Regions from separate parts of the Homo sapiens genome. Here region 2 is linked to region 1. The links are contacts of gene promoters, found by promoter capture Hi-C in human tissues and cell types (Jung and others, 2019). All regions are on one chromosome and are shown on one strand. Each heading gives the region's core, a stretch centred on a gene start or on the middle of the fragment in contact. The rest is flanking DNA. Distances are from core to core; before and after follow the strand shown.

Region 1 (3,362 bases), core at 829-3,328:
AAATTTCTCTGAACAACCGTGCTATTTTTTTCTTTCTTTCTTTTTTTTTCCCCAGTTAAAAAAAAAAGAGAGAGAGTGTTGGAGAAGGAACACACTAGGTTAGCATGGAGGAAAATGAAACTTTTGCATCAAACACTATTTGGAGCAGACTTTTGCCCACTGTCTTGAGTTTTTCCCACTGTCTTAAGCCCCTCAGCAGTATCATTTGGAGTTGATTTATGCAACATGAAACCGGATGGATTAGAGCCCCTAAAATATCTACTGAAGCAATCATCTCCCAGCACATACACAGACCCTAAGTGCCACAAGAAAGATGCAAATGAGGTCCCCAACGTCCCAAAGGGAGGAAAAGCAGATCTACTTACAAGCATTTGTCACGGAAAAACTATTGGAGGAATCCAAGTGATCTACGTGGTAATTCAAATGGAAGGGCTTCTCGGTGGTGTTCTGGTTGGTGTTGTATAACTGCACGGCAAAGCGGAAAGCGCTGTGCTCCTGCACTGTGTTTCTCATGAAAAGTCCACCTATAAGCAAAGGGAACGGAGATTTGGCTTGTGTTCCCCCACACTAGGGCCAGTTAGGAATTGGGGAACAATATAGATACCGGATACCTCTCAATGATACTGGGGTGTGGGATTGAGGATTGATATTCAACCTGTGTGTCTTTCAAGACTTGTGAACTCAGATTTTGGCCAAGAGAAACCTGGCTTTTCTAGACTGAAAAGAAGAGGCTAGAGAGAAGGGAGAAGAGACGAGGGAGCCGTTTTGGGTTAGGACGATGGAACCAAGAGTGAGACTTGGTTCTTTCTTAGTCGGCAGCCTTCTTTTTTTTTAGTCGCCCCCCCCCTCCGCCCCCCGCCCATCCGCACAGCTGGTCATCTTTTCATTGTGTGAAGGGAAAGGTTGGGAAGAAAAACAATATTGTTCCCCCTGCTACCCCAACCCGTTCCCCATAGCCACCCTCCCCCGTGACAATACAGGGGGTTGGTTCAGTAATGGCAAAAATTCTAACTTCTAGACTTGTAAATACGACAGAAGCCAAGATAACTCCCTCCAGGCGCCCAGGAGCCGGGCTCCAGACAGACACAGCGGCAATTCATGAATTCGTGGTCTGCGTGACTTCGCCGCTTGCCCGCTCAGCTCCTAGTCTCACCCCCGCCTCCTACCCCATCCACCACCAACGCCTGCTGCTGCCCGGGTCTGGGAGATCCAAAGTGGGCTCCACCTCCCCCAGCACCAGCCTGTCTCCCGACAGCCGGAGACCACGGACTGAGCACCCCGGGCCCGGGTTATGCGCCCTGGCGCGGCCAGACAGTCGGCATCACCCTGGGACAACTTCCAGGAGCTGCACGCACGCCATGGCAAAGTCCAGAGCAGCGAGCCGAAAAGCCTCGACTCTTCACCCCCTTGCAGCATCCCAGCCTCCTGCTCGCCTCCGGTGCTCCTCTCGGCTCGGAAAACCTAGCAGTTCACCCCCACTAGCCCCAGGAGACCCCTCTCTTGTCCCAGAGGCTCTTCAGACCAGCCACCTCGTTGAGGCTCAGATTCCCCCCGCCCCGCCCCCCGCCCCGCACCATCTCTGCCCGGTCCCGGCCCCAGTCCCAGTTCCCAGGCCACGCAGGACAGGGACCCACCGCAGGGAAAGCCTTGCCGGGGCAGTGGTCTCGGGTGAGGGAGAGCCTGGACCGACGGCTGGCTCGCTTGCGCTTACCTATGCTGATGGTGTTGGGGAATCCTCCGTGAGAATGACCCAAAAGCCCCAGGACTAAAAAGAAGACCGCCCGGAGCACGCTTTGCCCCATTTTCTTCTGCCTGGCCATGCTACGCCTAAAACGAAGCTGACAAGAGCATGGGCGCAACTCAGGAGTCGTCAAAATAATAATAGAAAAAGAAAAAGAATTCGCTGGCTCTTACACCCCCTCCCCTTAACTTGCTCTCGCTCACTCTTCCTTTCCACCCCACACTAGTCCTCCTCCTCCTCCGCTGCCGCCGCCTCCTCTTCTTCCTCTTCTTCTCTCTCCCTCTTACTCTCTCTCTTATTCGCTCGCTCTCTCTCGCTCGCTCTCTCTTCCTTTCTTGCTCCCTCTCTCTCCCTCTCGCTCCCAGGATCTCTCACACCCCCTCCCTTCCCCCCACCTCACTTCTGTCTTCACACCAATCTGGAAGGCGGGTTCATTGGCTGCAAGCTGGGTTTGCCAAAGCGATTTCTGTCCCTATGATAGAGAGAGAGAGAGAGAGAGAGAGAGAGAGAGAGAGAGAGAATAAAATCCTAAAACAGAACAAAACAAGCAAAACACTGAAAAACAAAAATAGAGAAGCAAAAGAAAGAGAACGAAAGAATAAATTATCAAGACAATCTGAGACTCTCTCCGCGCCCCCCCCCCCCCGCAAAAGATGGTAGGTCTAAAGAGGGGGGGAAAAAAAGGAAAGAGCGAAAAGGCTCAGTGCCGGTGAATTGGGCTCTTCCAATTGGGCCAGTAGGGGGATATTGATCAAAGTTGATCTGACGTGGAATTAAAGCCGCACACCGCTTAGCTCTACTGCAAACTGCAGCCCCGGACTGCAAAGCCTAGGCGCTGGCGTTTGTCAACACCGGAGATGGGATCAATAGAAATACACCACTCCTAACGTGGATCAACCTTTCAAGCTGCAACGTCCTCCCACCCTTTAAAAAAAAATAGCTGCATTGCCTCTGTGTTTGTGTGTCTGTCTTAAAGAAGGGGGGCCTTAGGAGGGCCATTAGTGGTTACTCCGGAGTCTTTGTAGAGACTCAGAGAAGCAGTTCCCATCACAATGCGCCCGAAGATGCTGCGCATGCCCGGTCTCTGCCGCTCCGCTTTTACAGCAGAGATCCGAGGGCGAGTGAGCAACCCCCACCCCCATCCCCGCAGCTTTGGGAGGCGTGTCCCTCCCCTTAAACTAGTGCTGAGGCCGGCTTGCGGGGGCATGGGGTGGGCGGTGCTGAGCAGTGATGGGCAGTATGGGGCTGACTTCTTTGGAGGGCATAGGAAAAAGTATGTGCGTAGAGGTAGTAACTAAAAGGTTAATGAAAAGGACGCTCAGGCTCACTGACCAAGGAGGAGGGAGGTGTGGGAATGAGCTGGTCTGGGGGTGGGGATTGAAAGTTGAGGCTGGAGAAAACTGTACCTAGCTGCATTGATCCCTTGGTGTTGCCTCTGGACTTAGCAGCCTAGGCCCCTGACTGATGACCTCAGAGGTTATCAATTCTTTCTGACTCTTCTTCCCCTCTGCTCTAAGGCGAGCAAAGAACCTATGAAGTCCTACAGTACAGACCGGATTTCAGTGACGGTGGCCTTCTCCATAGCATGCTGCGGATGAACCTCCTGGGCTATAGACTCCTC
Region 2 (3,450 bases), core at 663-3,162, 42 kb before region 1:
GTTATAGTCTCATGTCATTGGACCCATTAGTTGGCCTTGAGCTTACCCCCAGCCTGGCAGTGCTTCAAGCCACTGGTTGGAAATGCTCCCTTGGATCTTTGAGGCCCTCCCAGAAACCCTGGAACTCAGTAAATGTATAATAATACAATTTACTATAATGTCTTTTCTCTTTTCAAGCAACCCAGCTGTCTGTGATCTCTAGGTCCCAGCTCACTATATTTGATGGAGGGTGTATTTACAGTGAACAGCTGAAATGGCCCCATAAAATGTCTCCTTCATATCCTTTTTATCCTTTCATTGACAAGCATAGGGCAGCTCCATGGAGTTGGCTGCTGAGAGGCTAACAATGTTGGCGCAACAAGTCCATGCTATTACGATAATTTCCATTCTTCCTTTCTGCTGCTCTGTTATTGTTATTTAAGCATTTTTTCCTAAGAGTTGCCAGAAGGACAGGAGGAGCTGAAAGGCTCCAGTCTCCAAAATGGAAGCGAAGGCTTAACACGGAAAGTTCAAACAGCCTTGAATGCAAGTCCTTCCTCACACCCTAGGTCTTTACCTCTTACTCATTGGCAAGTTGGCTTCAGTGACTTCACTAGAACTCAGAATGTCTCTCCAACTCATGTTCTATTGTCTGAAAAGGATGGTGACAGAGCAGGGAAGATACTACAGAAGAAACTACACATCTCAATACTTGAACTATTCAACTCAACCTAAGACAAGAGAATAGTAGAAAAGATGGTAATACTCTGCCTCCCAAATTAGTTTGCCTCATGGTAGAGAAAAATATTCACCCATGCTACACTCAGAAAATAATGACAAAAAGTCAGACAATTGGGCAATTGTGTTCCACTTTGTGACTTGTACACATCTGATTTTCAATTCTAGGCCTGCTTTCTCTTGTTCCCCTCCCCTTCCCCCACAGAATATCTGTGTCTGGCAGATAGTAGGTGCTCAATAAGTAATTGCTGACTGACTTATCAACACTTGCTGGCCACCCTTCTTGCTGGCAAGTGCTCTGAAGTCCACTCATCAGCTAGGTAACATTTCTTGGATGCTGTCTTTTTATCCATCCATCCATTCATTCGTCCATTCATTTATTCCTTTATTAAATATTTGCTTTATTGAATAGCTCCACTGTTAGGTACTGTAATAAGTGCTGAGGAGACAAAGGAAAATAAGGCCTCAAGTAACTCATAGTCTATGTCACAAGGATCACAGCAGATAGAAAAAAAGGTACCATGCATAAATTGTCAAAGAACTCATGATCCAGTTAAGGAAGTAACCTTAAGTGACATTAAATGATTCAAGAACAACATAAAATATTATAAAATGCAGTATTAAATCATTTAGCCTAGATAAGTGGGAAAAGGGAAAAAGAGGAGGAGGAATCTGTGTGGTTTTCAAGAGGTGCAGAAGATAATGAAGGAATATAAATTTGAGAGACAAAGGTAACAAGGCCATAAACCTCAGCTTTTATTAGTGGTCATATTAGATTTTCGTGAACATACAAAACATAATCTAAAATAAATATTATTCTAAGTGTGTGTGTGTATTGGAGGGGGTCAGGGAGAGGGACAGGAAGCTAGAAGTTGCAGATAAATATTACTGAACATGCCCCAAAGCTTCAGCTCCTTTCTGTTCTCATGGATAATCAATGATGAACTGCATACAAGAATGACTATTTGCATATTGTATTGTTCTTTTGAAATCTCAATGGGGTTTTTAAAGTCTCTCTCTGCCTTTTAATTATTATGTTTTAATATCATGAAGATTGAGGTTATTATCATTAGGGAATCCTCACCTTTCCTCATATAATTTTTCTTTCAGAGTCCAAATTGAAGTAAAAAGTGCTGGTCTCAGCCTTTGTCCAGGATTATTATGGGCATGTTTGGTCAGCTCATCAGCTGATCCCCAACACCTTATCGTAGAATGGGTGGTATGTATGCACAGAAATGAAACTTTTTGTAGACTTGGGCCATTATACCATCTGTACTCTCAGAGTGTCTTTCTCTGAAAAACTGAAGCAATGGGAAACTTTCTAGGCAGTTATACATTTAGAATCACAGTTTTTCTGAAGTTCTTAAAATCTCCTTGGTATACCTGGGAATACTTGGGAGCAAGCTTTGAAAAAATGTAGGCCAATGAGAAAGAATGGAAAAATATACAAAAATAATTCTAGTTTTATGTGGGTAGTGGAGTTTTAGATAAACCCATATCCTCATTTTCCAAACTTCTTGAACTGTTGTTATGTTGTTTTTTATGATAATGATGATGAAGATGATGGTGATGATGATGCTAATGATGGTGATGATAACACTTCAAATGTCTGGTTTCCACATCCATTTACAATGGACTTGACATGTATGTTTTATTTTGGGCCTTTTCTAGGACCAAGTAAAGGAAAAAGACTATAAGTGTTTGTCTTGTCTCAGCAAATAGGGTTTCTATTTAAAGCATGGCAGAATTTGGCTTTTTAAAGGGATATTTCTTATCAAGGGATATTAAACAGATTACTGTGGGTTCACTGTGAAAGATAATCTTTTGGGATTTCATGAATGAAATAGAGGTCAAGAGATTAAGAAGAATTATAGGTGAAAGGGACCAAGAGTCAGAAATACCATTAATTTAAATTTTATATTGGTAGAGGGGGTTTAGAATGAATTAAGCCTCTAAGGTCCCAACTTCAAGACATGTTGCTGAACCTGACTCAGAGAATGGTATTTTCAAGCATGCTGGGCTCAATTACCATTACACCTTAAAAGTTATTGCTTGGTGTATTAAATAATTATCACATTAATTGATTCATCCTATTTGTGAAATGTTAGAGTAGAAAAAAAGTCTTTGGATTTATCTTGGAAAGGAAGTTTGAAATGTACACTTCAAAACATGTAGTTCCTGGGACTAAAGATGTAATAGGTTCAGGTTCAAAAGATAAACTGCACAGACAAAGCTTTTGGTTATCCCAATTGCTACTGTAATTATTACTTGACTACAGAGAAATAAATTCATTATGTAACCCATTTTTTATGCCTCTGACAGGAATTCCAAGATTCAATAAAGGAAGAAACTGTCCATTTAGCAAATGTTCTTAGGTCTTCCATGCTATGATTAATTTATTCAGTAATCATTTATTGGGTACTCGCTCCGTGCAAGACCATATGCCAGGCACAGAAAAATAGTCATAGCTAACATTTGTTGAGTGTTTATTATGTGTCAGGCACTATAGGTGTTTTGTATGCATTATCTCATTTACTTGCAACACTATTGTTATTGTTTTGCAGATGAGAACATTGAAGCTTAGAGACACCGGTTGACTTGCCCCAAATTACATACCTAGTAAGTGCCAGAGCTGGTACTAAAATCCAAGTCTCTGATTCCAGAACCAGACATATTAAACATGAAGTCTGTGGCAGAATCCCCATCTTTAAAGAGGTTTCACGCACCTAATTG

The links. The method cuts DNA at HindIII sites, captures the fragments that hold promoters and counts their contacts. A contact is called where the count stands out against the background at its distance.
Region 2: a contact is called between a fragment that was not itself captured here and the fragment with the promoter of GRIA3 in region 1, in 1 of the 25 tissues and cell types used here (hippocampus).

The regions. Positions count from the first base shown.
Region 1 is chrX:123,182,994-123,186,355 of GRCh38, reverse strand. It overlaps GRIA3 (glutamate ionotropic receptor AMPA type subunit 3), which reads right to left and starts at 2,078. Exons shown (of 16, transcript NM_007325.5): 1 at 1,712-2,078; 2 at 366-524. The coding sequence starts at 1,820. The HindIII fragment of the contact is 15,663 bases long and covers 1-3,362 here.
Region 2 is chrX:123,225,030-123,228,479 of GRCh38, reverse strand. All of the region lies in intron 2 of GRIA3 (glutamate ionotropic receptor AMPA type subunit 3), which reads right to left. Among named protein-coding and RNA genes, the nearest start is that of GRIA3, 42 kb to the right of the region's middle. The HindIII fragment of the contact is 3,674 bases long and covers 76-3,450 here.